Linked DNA regions of Homo sapiens: region 1 is linked to region 2. Evidence: promoter capture Hi-C in 16 types of primary human blood cells and fetal thymus (Javierre and others, 2016). All regions are on one chromosome and are shown on one strand. The core of a region is centred on a gene start or on the middle of the fragment in contact, and the rest is flanking DNA. Distances in the headings are between cores, read along the strand shown. Region 1 overlaps PLD1 (phospholipase D1). Region 2 holds the start of NCEH1 (neutral cholesterol ester hydrolase 1).

Evidence for each region. Contacts are between HindIII fragments. The CHiCAGO score rates a contact against its expected background, and 5 or more counts as called.
Region 1: a contact is called between a fragment that was not itself captured here and the fragment with the promoter of NCEH1 in region 2, in 1 of 17 cell types (neutrophils). The highest score is 6.3, in neutrophils.

What each region holds. Positions count from the first base shown.
Region 1 is chr3:171,649,085-171,656,320 of GRCh38, forward strand. The region is part of intron 21 of PLD1 (phospholipase D1); the gene reads right to left. Among named protein-coding and RNA genes, the nearest start is that of PLD1, 160 kb to the right of the region's middle. The HindIII fragment of the contact is 2,636 bases long and covers 3,924-6,559 here.
Region 2 is chr3:172,709,192-172,716,406 of GRCh38, forward strand. NCEH1 (neutral cholesterol ester hydrolase 1) reads right to left here and starts at 1,876. Exons shown (of 5, transcript NM_020792.6): 1 at 1,656-1,876. The coding sequence starts at 1,793. RefSeq lists enhancers at 1,328-2,527, 1,657-1,926, 1,848-2,142, 2,187-2,326. The HindIII fragment of the contact is 17,687 bases long and covers 1-7,215 here.

The sequences.
Region 1 (7,236 bases), core at 3,992-6,491, 1.1 Mb before region 2:
TTTGTAAGAGACAGTTCTATTTTATCTTTTTTTTTAAGCAAAAATGATTTTACAAGGGAGATCTCATATGTATGATATTGAGAAATGTCCTATAAAAATATTATAAAACATTCTTGCAAATTTTAGTTTGTAGGAATCAGAATATTCACATTTTCTTGTTTTTAGGACTCTCTTAGCTCCATAACAAGCCCTTTGCTATTTTACAATATGGTAGCTCATAAATTTCCTGAATGATGAAAATTTTAAACTGCGTTCAGCAAACTAGTGGAAACTATTTAGATTTTCACTGCTGTAGAAAAAAGGGCTCTGGAATTTCAAACGCAAAATTGTGGTTGAATGTAAGCCAAAGCACAGAAGATTCCATGGGACACTGTGTCCAATCTGCCTCCTTGATCCAATCCACAGAGGACAAGAGTTCCAGCTGCTGAGGAATCCAACGTCCTTCGGAAATACTGAATCCTCACAACATGGGGGTTGTGGAAATGATAGCATTCAGCTTAGGGTAAGAATCTGAGCCCCTAGTGTATAAAATATTTATGATCTTAAAAGCAATCTTGCTTTTGGGGCTAGTGGGCACTAAGCCCCGGATAACTACCCATCATGCCAGCAATCACTTCATCCACATTAGTTCAAAGCAATTTCTACCAAACAGCATTCTCAGGCTTCTTGTTAAAAGTTTTTCTTCAAAATTCACTAACTCTTATGGCAGTGCTACGTATAATAGCTAAAAATTGGAAATAAATGTCCAATAATAAAGGAATGGTTAAATTATGTTGAGCCAGTCAATGGAATGATCACCTTGTAGCCACTAAAAATGACCGCTATGAAGGCTCAGTAGCACAATACTTCTGGTACTGTGTTAAAATGGCCCCAATGCAATGTTATAAGAGAATAAAAATGTGGCAGGCCAATGCTATAAAACATTAAATCATTTTTCCCTTTAAATGTGTTAACTTCCCCCACTCTGTGACCGGAGAAACGAAGCAGGCATTGCTCCCGGGGTGGCACTCTCACAAGGGAAGCAGGACACAAAAACATCAACTTCTTTTAGATTTGGGGAACTGGAGAGATTCTCTAAGCTGAGGCAGGAGTGTAGAGAAATAAGAGCAAGACTCAGGGCAAGGAATCAGTCCTTTGGCCTCAAGCTGAGTTCGGGGAAAAACAGGATAGACCCCACTCTCTTTTCAATGTGAGGATATGAGAGCCAGGAGGATCTGTGCCTTGCTTTCAGGTGAACTCCAGAGAAATGTGGAGCATGTCGTTCAGCAGCTATGCGATGTGGCAGGAGCAGAGGAGAAGTGGTAGAGAGGCAGGCCTGAAAGGTGAAGGCTGACGTCCCCAAGCTACGTTAAGCAGATGCCAGAACAGGCCGGAGGGAGATCAACATCAGTGTCTGGAAGCCCCTTTCCAAAGATCCAGGGCCCCATAGCATTAAGATCAAGGACGGGATGTGGAGGGAGAGGAGGCAGGAGTAGAACCCTGATGCTGAATATAGAAGGGAAATAATGAGAAATCACTGAATTTGGCCACATTTATCAGGAAGTGCCAAAACTAAAACTAAAACCCCTCCTATTGTGTGGAAATGCGCTTGAGCTAGAAATTCAGATGAACTCTAGGAAAAGAAAATAAATTACAATTCAACAGAAAATAGTAGTGTGTGTGTATTAGCCAGGCGTGGTGGCGGGCGCCTGTAGTCCCAGCTACTCGGGAGGCTGAGGCAGGAGAATGGCGTGAACCCGGGAGGCGGAGCTTGGCAGTGAGCCAAAATCGCGGCACTGCACTCCAGCAGCCCGGGCGACAGAGCGAGAATCCGTCTCAAAAAAAAAAAAATTAATTTTAAAATTTTTGTGATTGCTATAAAGCTGTTTGTACCTTTAAAAGCAGAGTACGAATGTACCATGTAGATGGGTCACAGCAGTGATGTACCTCTACTTTCCTTTTCTTGTTTTTCTCTGCTGCATAAGCCCCTCCTCCTTCACCCACAGTCCCTCCTCAGCATGAAGGACAGTTAGGAGAAGCTTGATCTGCTCACAACTGGGTCTCAGGGTCTGGCAAGAAGGCCCCGAGGAAGCTTGATATGCTTCGCTAGTGACAAGACACTTTATTTTTTTGAGAATTTGAGATTTATAGTTTGTATTTCATTACTGTAAACTTCAAGAGCTGCTATAAATCGTCTCGTTGTAGATTTTGCAGCAGTGAATACTGTCAGAAATAGGAAGAATTGTGGTTAGGGCTTAGGGTGTGTGTGTGTGTGTGTGTGTGTGTAAAGAGAATTTTATACTATGGTGGTATCAATTATGTTGGAATTGGATCTGTAGCTTCTTGGTCGTTTGGGACATAACCCCTTTTATTTTGTGCTTGGCAAATCCTTTAAAAGGAGAAGATCCTTCTGGGCTTCAGTTTCCTCATCTGCACATGAAAGAACTGGCTAAAATCATGACTAGTCCACTAGAAATGCTGGCCCTATTTAGCACTGACTTTACCTATCCTCTATGTGACTTCATAGATTATGAACTATTATATATTGTGCACAAACACACATCAGTTTTCTCATTGGTTATCTTTTGAAAATGGCAAGCTTTCAAACATAAGAATGCTGAGGGATTCCCCAGCATGTTTGACTTAGACTTCACCCTGGGCTTGATAGTCTTTGGCAAGCCTAGCCCTGAGTGGCCCCCAAATGAGGTTATATAGAACCTTATACTAAACTGTTCCCACTATGGCCCAGACGGTTTTCATTGTCATTTTTAAGTCTCCTTCTTCCTTCCTCTCTTTTCCAGGGCACATGCTCAGGCTCAAAATGAGTGCTGGCCCCTGCCCTGTGCTAATCTTTACATTTCTCTATCTGCTGAGGTTACCATTTTATACAATTTTTAGAATAGAATAAAAGCATTTACATGACCTAAATCAAAAGGTCTCCTGCCACGATCTGTTGTCATCTGTGTCCCAAGGTAACCTCTTCTCCAGAAATCGTACAGAGCTTGGGAGTTATCCCACAAGAAAAAATGTGAAACCAATGATTGGCATACTTAGATAAAATGTGTTTTGGCCAGGCGCGGTGGCTCATGCCTGTAATCCCAGCACTTTGGCAGGCCAAGGCGGGCGGACCACGAGGTCAGCAGATCGAGACCATCCTGGATAACACAGTGAAACCCCGTCTCTACTAAAAATACAAAAAAATAGCCAGGCGTGGTGGCAGGCACCTGTAGTCCCAGCTACTCGGGAGGCTGAGGCAGGAGAATGGCGTGAACCCAGGAGGTGGAGTTTGCAGTGAGCCAAGATCGCGCCACTGCACTCCAGCCTCGGCGACAGAGTGAGACTCCTTCTCAAAAAAAAAAAAAAAAAAAGGTACTGCAGTTGAATTTTCTTTAAGACAAGGCTTCTGAAACAAGCCCAACATGTCTTTTCAGTTTGGTACAAAATTATAGGATATGGTAATTATGGACATAGATTTTTCTTTAAACCCAAGAACTTTTAATCTATCAAACATTGCTTTTAAAAAATAAAACATTCATCTGATTTTTTTTTTCTTTTTGTGACAGGGTCTTGCTCTGTTACCCAGGCTGGAGTGCAGTGGTGCAATCATGGCGCACTGCAGCCTTCACCTCCCAGGCTAAGAGATCCTCCCACCTCAGCTTCCCGGATGGCTGGGACCACAGGCATGTACCAGCACACTCAGCTATTTTTTTTTTTTTTTTTTTTTTTTTTTTTGTAGAGACTAGGTCTCACTATGTTGCACAGACTGGTCTTGAACTCCTGAACTCAAGTGATCTTCCTGCCTCGGCCTCCCAAAGTGCTAGAATCAAAGGCATAAGCCACAGTGCCCAGCTCATTCAATTTTTTATATTTCAAAATAAAGTATTTTTCATAGATTTCTGGGAGGCTTACCATTCGAAAATTTCTACATCCCTTGAAATGGGGGAAGCTTTGTAGCTTACTGGTAAAAAGCACAAGTTGAGGTCCTACAGACATGGTTTGAGTCCTACTCCTATCCAACCATAGCTGTATGACTTGGCTAAGTTATCTAATTTCACTAGGCCTCAGCTGCCTCATCTGTAGAATGGGAGTAATTACACAACCAATCCCATAAAGTTGATACAAAGACTGAATGAGGTAACACAGGTATAGCACTGATTATGTGGAAAGACTCAGAAACTATTTGGTAACATTTTTATTCAATTATATCAATTGCTGATTTCAATTAGAAGGCTTGCATATCTTCAAATAACAACAAAGTAAATAGCATCTAAAATTAAAACAATACTAAACTAAACACATATTATGCTTCAGAATACATTTTGTTTTACTTTATATTTTGGGGAGAGTGTTATCAGATCAATAACAGGGAAATCAAAAATTGATTCCCAGGAAGAGTCAGCTATAGGTTTCTGGCAGCAAACCTCTAGACAGAGTGTTGTAATCGTGTGCCTAAACAAGTCACATGATGAACAACAGCCAGTCGTGAGAAACCAAAACAAATTTTTCTTATCCAGAAGTAGCCGTCCAATAATTTAAAATACGGAACATTTAAGCATCTTTTAAATTAAAACATTTCTTTTTCTAGCATAAATACTAATTTTGAAACAGCTGATTTGAATATGATGCCTCTTTATCCTTGCTTCAATTTACAGTGAACAACATATTTCCAGATGATGAATATCATGGAAATGCTATAATAAGTTCTTACATGAACTGGTGCTTTACAGCTTACAAACTACTTTCACATATATTCATATAAGCTACGTAGAACAGATAATATTATTCGTGGTTGGTGAAGAAACAGCGTGTCAGAAGGACAAACTGACGTACTCAGAAGGTCACATACCTGTGGATAACAGAGCTGGAGAGAATCCAGGTCTCCAGACATCTGGTCCCCCAATAATTTCAGATTTCCCAGTGTGGTATTTCCCATACCACCCACTTACAGGCAAGCAGTAGCTCTTCTACAGTTATAAGAAGCATGAGGGGCACTTTGGGAGGCCGAGGTGGGCGGATCACTTGAGGTTAGGAGTTCAAAGCTAGCCTGGCCGACATGGTGAAACCCCGTCTCCACCAAAAATACAAAAAAATTAGCTGAGTGTGGTGGCGGGTGCCTGTAATCCCAGATACTCGGGAGGCTGAGGCAGGAGAATTGCTTGAACCCGGGAGATGGAGGTTGCAGTAAGCCAAGATCACACCACTGCACTTCAGCTTGGGTGACAGAGCAAGACTGTCTCAAAAAAAAAAAAAAAAAAAAGAACATGGTAAGTTTGAACAATGTTCAAAATTGTTGTTTTAATGTAGTTTAATAGCATATTTTTAATGCAGTTTAATATTAAAACATAGAAGCATTAAGTCAACTGACTATTTTCATTGTGTGTGTCAACTGTTTGTTGCTAACACTATAAAATGCACTTTCTCACTTCCTGACTTTCTACCAAAGCAGAAAAATTATGCATGTCAAGTTTCCATGTGCAAAGATCTGAGAATCTCCTCAGAAACCATTCATTCATGGCACACAGTGTTTAAAAATGTGTCTACCTGGATCAGTTGGTCCTATCTTTTGGCTTAGTCAAACATGGCATAAAACAGTAAATTTTAGACTGTGGATTATGATTTTTTTTCTCTCTGATCGCCAATCACATTTGAGCTGTCAAAGAAAGGTTTCAAGTGGGTTGGGCAGCTGGCTTCAACTCTGAGACAGTTTTACTTATTAGAGTGAAGATTTGTTTTTTGTTTTTTTTTTATTCTGATTCCCCCGGCTGTTCTGAGGTCAGCATGGGGTAAACATGAGTCTGAGGCTCTAGGTCATGTCAGAACATGAAGGCTTTGCAAAACTTATTTCTATAAAGAATTATGGCTGTTGAGAAGGAACCAGAGGAAGTGAGAGGAACTGAGAAATTGCTTAGGGGAATTGTTGTGAGGCTGGATTCCAACGCTGGCAGAAAAATACTTAGACCAGTCCAGGGAGTTGGCAATTTGAAGACTCAGATTTCTCCAGGGTAGGAGGGACCTGGCAGAGGGCCTGTATTCTTTGGTGAGGCCTGGCTGACTGCGGACTGTCATTTCCCTCCATCTGCTTTGGGCTGCATTCTATTCTTTTTCAAATAGCCAAAATTATACTTGTTGCTAAGAATGTGACTTTGGCAGGGAAGTTCTGAGTCTCAGAAAAGTAGAGACCAGAGAAGTCTATGGAGAGAGAGGGGTAAGTTTGGGATGGCACATCATGGCACCTAATTAGTGAAAAGGGGTCACCCCAGGGTGGCAACCTGCAAAATATGTTGTTTCTTTCATTTTTTATTTATTTATTTTTTTAGAGATGAGGCCTCATTCTATCTCCTAAGCTGGAGTGTAGTGGTGAGATTATAGTTCACTGCAGCCTCATACTCTCAGGCTTAAGGAATCCTCTTGCCTCAGCCTCCAAGTAGCTAGAACTACAGGCACACCAAAACATCTGGATAATTTTTTATTTTTTTGTAAAGACAGGTGGTCTCAAATTTCTAGCCTTTAGAAATCCTCCCGCCTCCGCCTCCCAAAGTGCTGGGATTACAGGTGTGAGCCACCACACCTGCCCAAGATAAGCTTTTTAATTCTGCCTTTACCTTGCCTAACACAAGCTCACAGAACACAAGCTCACAGATTTGAAATTAAGTGAAAATATATTTTACAGTTGCAATTAACATAGGGAGATTAACAAGAATGCAGAGACGCCAGGGGTGAGGGGAACATAAAATATGTTTTGAGAATGTGTGTGTGTATCCACTGAAAGTCTAAATGTGTGACATATGTACCATTTTGAAAATGTGTCTGTCAAAAAAATGAGACTATTGAGAGATCAGAGCTAAATGACACAGGTTTATTTGAAATTTGATGAACTAATTTCCCATTTTTCACAAAGCAAACTTGAAATTGCCAGTCTTTAATGTGCTCTGTCAAACTCCAAGTGTAAGATACAATCTGCAACAGGTGCTACTTTACCATAATTTTTAAAGTCACAGATCCCTTTTCCTTTCAGGAGCAGCTCATAAGATCACTAGGAAATGTTCTATCAGAAAATATCTTGAAGTTTCTTGTAGCCCTAAAATACTATAATTTTATTTATTTATTTATTTATTTATTTATTTTGAGACAGAGTCTTGGTCTGTCACCCAGGCTGGAGTGCAATGGCATGATCTCAGCTCACTGCAATCTCCACCTCCTGGGTTCAAGCAGTTCTCCTACCGCAGCCACCTGAACAGCTGGGACTACAGTCATGCA
Region 2 (7,215 bases), core at 626-3,125:
TCTCCAAACCTAGCTTGTCCGAGATTAACTTATGATGGAGAAGACTTCTTTGGTGACCTGAAAACTAAGAATAATCTCTGCAGCCAACACAGCAGTTTGATCTTTTTCCTGTTTTCCTCTGTTTAAGTTATTGTAGTAGACCATTAACCCACCCAGGTAAACATCACTGTTCCTCAATCTTTGAAGGGTATTACTTTCAAATTACATAATTTCATGGGGGAGGAGAGGGAATGCAAGGCTTCCTACAACAAGACTGACTTTCTTGACACCAGTGCTAAAGAAGGGGATGATCATTTTCACCATGTCAACATTATAGGAAGCAAGAGGAAAAGAAGGGGGGCAGGGGTCTATAGCTTCATAGACCTTTCCTAAGAGACAAAAGGGGCTTTGGAGGTGAGAATGTGGCTGAATTCAGGAAAAGCAAATCCACGCTAGGAATGTGCTGCAATATCCTAGTAAGGGGACTTTTCATAGGATAAAGCCCCACAGATTATGTAATCCTACACATAATGAGTGGACAGGGAACAGGAACATAAACCCTCTGGGAAAATCATGACTTTTTTAAAATCAGCTTTCTCAGGTTGAAATGATTTTTTTTCTCTTTCTCTAGTTGTCATTTCTGAAAGAAAGAGTTTATAAAAATATTCTGAGATTAAAGCCCAAGGTTGTGGGGAGGGAGGAGGCTTGGTTTTGGAGAAGGTTAGAGTTTAGATAGAGCAGGCTGCTCAGAAATACTGTCCAATCAGAGGGCTCAGCCTTGGCTGCAGACTGTAGTTTAGATTTTAGATTCTCTGACACTAAAAATAATGCCTCTTACCATGGAATAAACCAGAGACAGTTATATTTTCCTGTGTATGGAAGGAATGAACACACGCCCATGATACAGTGGAGAGAAATGTTACCCTCCCAGGTTAAGGCAGGTAACCTCGCTCAGGAAAAGGTTATCTGACAGCCAAGGACATAAAATAAATGCTGCAGGGCAAGCAGAAAACATGCATCATGCAAACCAGGGCTGCCGCCTCCTCACCTCCTTTCAGCCAGCCCAGCCTCCCAGTCCTCTTTCTTGGGCTGAGCTGAGATCTGCCTCGGGTGAAACGAGAGATCCCTATGGTTCCTCAAGTGCTTGGATGGAGAGCCCTGCCTGCTGTCTCCGGGAACGGAGCGCTCCACAGCCTGGGGACATTGCGAGACTGCCCTTGCCTGCTTCTGCTTCTAAGGTGGCTGCATTCCCAGGAACCAGAGCCTGCTTTTCCCGAGCTCTCCTAAAAATATTTATCCTCTGCCGGTCCCTATGGGAGAACGACAGTGTGAAGAAGGGTGGTTTATAAACTGCTTAAGGATTTGCCTTTTGACGTTGCAAACCAAGGAAGAGGAAGATATTTAGGACAGACGAAGGTTTAAACAGTTGTCAAATTCTATTCAAGCACTTCTTCCCCGTCACAAACGCAGACGGGGAAATGCAGATCTAGCCCGCTGCTAGCAAGGAGGCGAATGCGATACCCTGAAAATTCCCGACTGGACCACCTCAAAAAGCGACAGCCTCAATGCATTAGGAAAAACCTGCGTTTTCGTGGAACCCGGCGGAGGAATTTTGTATCCCCTTCAAATATTGCGTAAGAGGAGGAAGAGAGAAGCAGCGCTGGGCTGCACCTCACCACTTGCTGTGCACCCCGGAAAGTGGCGTCCAGCAGCATCAGCTTCCAGGGGTCGGACACGGAGCCAGGCAGCGGGATGTAGACGTAATAGGCGGCCAGCGCCACCAGGGCGGTGAGCAGGACACAGGACGACCTCATCTTGCCCTGGCTCGGCTCGCCAGCGGGCTGGCAAAGAGGAAAGGGCGATACCACCCGGAGACCTCCGGCAACTTTCTGCCCGCGGCAGCTGCTCATTCACGCGTTTCTTATAAGCCCAGGAGCCAATCAGAGGCTGCGTCGGGAGGAAGTTGGAGCGCGGACATGCCCCCTCTACGGTGTCCTTGCAAAGTGTGGCAGTCACTACAGGTTTGAGGAAGGCTCTGTCGCTGCTCTGGCCGTAGGCACAGCGGACTCTGGAGGACACTGGTTTGTACTGCATGCGTGTGAGGATGGCTTTCCTCCTGGAAGGTCTCAAACGGAAAATAGTTTCAGTGTGACGAGTCTCTGGACAAAGCAAGTGGGTCATTCTGACTCAGAGTACTGAGAAAGGATATAAAAATTCTGTTTTCTGGAGCCAGACTTGGAGTGGTTTGTAAGTTCTAGCTGATATATGGCAAAAGAAGATATTAAATTCTTCTGGCTCAAGCAATGAAAGGCCAGTAGTACATCTAGCACCCAAGTCTTGGTTTCTAAATCCTATGCTCCAATAAGAGGAACCACGGCTTTTTGACACAACCTCTGGAGAAAAGGCTGATACCAGGGCTGGGGCTGTAAAGTACAAGATGAACCTGTTGTGCCAGAGATGCGGAAGTGCTCAAAAAATGATAGGAACTGGTCAAAGGTCCACAGCTGCCAGCTTGAAGGGTCTCCCAGTGGCTGAAGCTGGGATAATTTTACCATCAATATAAATCATCATAATGGATAACCCATTGATTAAAATAAAACTCAACAATCTATATTAATATAAATAAATGAGGAAAGAAGAAAGGCTTTTCTTAAAATAGAATGCCAGCTAGTATCCATAGAAAATCATAAATGAATGCTAAAACTAGAGGGTAAAAATTTGACACAGAATTTTGGTCCTTCATCAGAAGATCTCTCCACAAATTACTACAAAGGGAAAAAATAATAACTTTTTATTGGAGAAACGTGTGGATATCACCTGAAAAATTCTTTCAGTGAGTCAATGGTAGCAGAAATACACTTAAACCCAGATTTCTTGTTAATGATTGGGGGTGAGGAGGGGTGGGTGAGTACTGAATGGGAGAGAGAAAACTTCACTAGCAAAATTTCAACCAGAAATCCAGAAGGAAAACAGTTAGAAGACCTGTTTCAAGAAAGTGGTAGGATGACAACTCCAAACTTATTGATGAAGGTCTTAAAACACCTAGTATATATAATTATGCATCTTAAGATGGTAATTTTAATTTAATCAAATTAATAGAAGTGAAATAACCATAAATTTGGTTCTGATAATGAGATTTTTAGGAAACAGTTGGCTTCTTCTTCAACATTGAAGGAAAACTGATAAGAAGGGCACACTTTCATGGTATTTCAAGCAAGTTCTCTCTCTCTTTTTTTTTTGTTTTGTTTGTTTTTGGTGTTTGTTTTTTGTTTTTTTTGAGACGGAGTCTTGCTCTTTTCGCCCAGGCTAGAGTGCAATGGCACGATCTCAGCTCACTGCAACCTCCACCTCCTGGGTTCAAGCAATTCTCTTGCCTCAGCCTCCTCAGTAGGTGGGATTACAGGTGCCCACCACCACACCTGGCTGATTTTTGTATTTTTAGTAGAGATGGGGTTTCACCATGCTGGCCAGGCTGGTCTCAAACTCCTGACCTTGTGATCTGCCCACCTCAGTCTCCCAAAGTGCTGGGATTACAGGCATGATCCACGGCACCTGGCCTCTCTCTCTCTCTCTCTCTCTCTCTCTCTCTCTCTCTCTCTCTCTCTCTGTCTTTTAAGTTACTGGTTAAACTCATAACTCTAAACAGATAGGAATGTTTATGTTTATGTTTGTGTGTGAGTATATGTGTAGAAAATTAGAAGCTATTCTTTTTTTTTTTGAGATAGAGCATCGCTCTTGTCACCCAGGCTGGAGTGCAATGGTGCAATCTTGGCTCACTGCAACCTCTGCCTCCCGGGTTCAAGCCATTCTGCCTCAGCCTCCCGAGTAGCTGGGATTTCAGATGCCTGCCACTAAGCCCAGCTAATTTTGTATTTTTAGTAGAGACAGGGTTTCACCGTGTTGGCCAGGCTGGTCTTGAACTCCTGACTTCAGGTGATCCACCTGCCTCAGCCTCCAAAAGTGCTGGGATTACAGGTGTGAACTACCACGCCCAGCCAGAAGCTAATCTTTATGGGTGATTAGGAATAATCCTGGAGATATAAACCAAGCTGACTACTGGATTTAGTTACATTACTTGCTTTCAGGAAATCTGCAAAATAAATCCAAGTTTTACCTTGTCGACAATACTTTTCTCTTAGATTTTGACTATATGTTCATAAAAACATAGATCTTAGAGCTAATGACAAAACCAAACCGAACCAAAAACAAACAAGCAAACAAATCCAAAAATCCCCACACCTAACTCAGCCTTCCCTCTTCCACCAGCAGTTAACACACTCGGTGTTATAGATGAGCCTCTTGAGGATTAGCGCAGCCAAATGGCTTACTCATATTCCTCTAGTTTGTAAGTGATAGTAGCAATATTTATTTCTGCCTCTCAGTGAAGTGTGGCTTCCCTTAAGCAGTACACTAAGAGATAGAAACTAAGAAAGAACAAAGAAACTGTAGTAATTCTCAGATCAGAAATCTGAGAGCCTCTGTAGATCTGAGAGTTTTTTAAAATGAGACTAATTTGAGATAAGTATAAACACCTTCATCACTTGTTTTCAATACTTCATTCATTCAACAAACATACCTGGCCTACACTGGGAAATAAAGAAGTTGTGGCAGGCAGGCTGTAAGGTTTCGACTCTTTGATTTTATATGCTTGGAGGGTGGTGGGGAGGGGTTCAGGGGAGGATGTAAGCATGATACAGAAGGAAGAGCCAAACAATAAACAAACAAAAATTAATAAGCAACATGCATTAATTTGCCTTGCTATGAGGTAATTCTGTGGTAAGCACTTTGAATATATTAACTAATTTAGCTTCATAACGATTCTACGAAATAGGTACCATTGTTACTCTAAAAACAGGCACTGAAAGATGAAGTGCTTTGCCCAAGCCATCCAGCTGGTATGTGAGCCCAGAGTCTGAGCCTAGTGCTCATGTGCTTTACCACTCAGCTCTACTGCTAAGTGGTTAAAAATGAAAATGGCCGGGCGTGGTGGCTCACGCCTGTAATCCCAGCACTTTGGGAGGCCAAGGTGGGTGGATCACCTGAGGTTGGGAGTTGGAGACCAGCCTGGCCAACATGGGGAAACCCCGTCTCTATGAAAAATACAAAAATTAGCTGGGTGTGGTGGCACGTGCCTGTAATCCCAGCTACTCGGGAGGCTGAGGCAGGAGAATTGCTTGAACCCGGGAGGTGGAGGTTGCAGTGAGCCGAGATTCCACCATTGCACTCTAGCCTGGGCAACAAGAGTAAAACTCCGTCTCAGAAAAAAAAAAAGAGAGAGAGAGAAAACAGAACAGGGTGTCTGGGAGCTGCTTTAAATTGGGTGGGAAAGGGGACCTCTTTAAGGAGATGCCATTTGAGCTGACATCTGCATGACAGGAGAAGACTGCCATGCAGGGTTGTGGAGGTGGAGGGAACAGGTGCAGAGGCTCTAAGATGCTAACCCGGTCAATGAACACTAACAGCTAGTGAGGCAGAAGTACTGTGGGAAAGGTGGTGGAACAGGCTCAGCCACAGAGGTAGTGTGGGTGCAGAAGAGCAGATCATTTAGGACCATGTAGGCCATGTTAAGGAGTTTGAATATTCTGGTACAATGGGAAGCAATTGGAGGTTTTGTAACAGGAAAGTGACATGATCTGATCTATTCATATATTTAAAAAGGAGCACTACAGCTGCCATGTGGAGAAGACCTGTCAGGTGGCTTTTGCAGTAGTCCAGATGAGATATGATGGTGGCCCGGAGCTGCAGTTTAGTTTAGCAATGGAATCAAGGGGACAGATTTTGGGTATATTTTAGAGATAGGGGAGATAAGACATACTCATAAATTATGAACGATGATAACAAGAGTCAAAATACTCTGTTTCTAAGGCAATAAGGTGTAGTTTGAGTGCAGAAATTGACTTTTCCGTTTTTATGGAATTGTCTTAGATTAATTTTTATTAACATCTAAATATATGACATAGCAATATCATTGCTTAACAAAATCTTTATTTTTATCACTTGAAATAATTTTCCCAAAATTCCATCTATTACACCATGTGAAGTGGTTTTCTTCATCCACGACAAGCAGAACTTTAGTTCAACATTTATTGAGTTTTGCTATCTGTAAGGCACTGTGGTAGATGCTGTCGTGATGAAAATATAGTTCCTTTCCTTGTGAAAAAGTGTTCTAGTTAGAGAGAAAGTCAGATAAGTAGATAGTTTCAAATATGTACACAGCTCAGAAATGTAACACAGAAGAAGTCAAAATTCTGTTCCAGAAAAATGAGGAATAAGAAATACTCAAAAATGGCGATGACTGAGCAAGTTCTGCAGGCTGAAAAGGAGTGTGTGTACAGGCAGACAATAAGTGAGACCATCCCAAGCAGAAAGAAGAGATTATATGGGAGTTCTGAAGTGTGATGGGAGCAGAGAACTACACATAGTTCAATATTTCTGGAGCATCAGATGCAGGGAGGTGGAGTGTAATGAGAGTATAACCTGAAGAGTTAGGGATCACACAATGAGGGCCTGCTACGAGTGTGTTATGTCACTGAAGAGTTTGAACATTATCCTTTAGGCAGTGGAGAGACACTGAAGGGTTTGCATGAGATCGCTCCGGTAGCGATGTACAGGGTATGTGTGTGGGGAGAGAACAGATGAAGTAGTTGGGAGGATGTTGTTTTTTTGTTTGTTTGTTTTTGTTTTGCTTTTTGGTTTTTTTTGGAGATGGAGTCTCACTCTGTCATCCAGATTGGAGTGCAGTGGCGTGATCTCGGCTCACTGCAACCTCTGCCTCCCAGGTTCAAGCAATTCTCCTGCCTCAGCCTCCCAAGTAGCTAGGACTACAGGTGCACGCTGCCATGCCTGGCTAATTTTGTCATTGCTGTATTTTAGTAGAGATGGGGTTTTACTGTGTTGCCCAGGCTGGTCTTGAACTCCTGAGCTCAGGCAATCCAACCACCTCAGCCTCCCAAAGTGCTAGGATTACAGGCATGAGCCACTGCACCTGGTCAAGGATGTTGCTTTTAAGGTGTGCAAGATAGAGATGGTATTAGCATAAACTTGTATCAGGTGATGAAAATGAGAATGAAGAGTCAAAAGATACCTGAGAGGTAGAATCAAGAAGACTTGTAAAGGGAGAATAAAGGAGTCAAGATGAATTTCCGGGTCACTCGCTGAAGCAGATGGGAGAATGGTGTTGCCTTTTCAGAGATAAAGAATGGTAAAGGGTAAAAGATTTAAGGGGAAATGATAAAT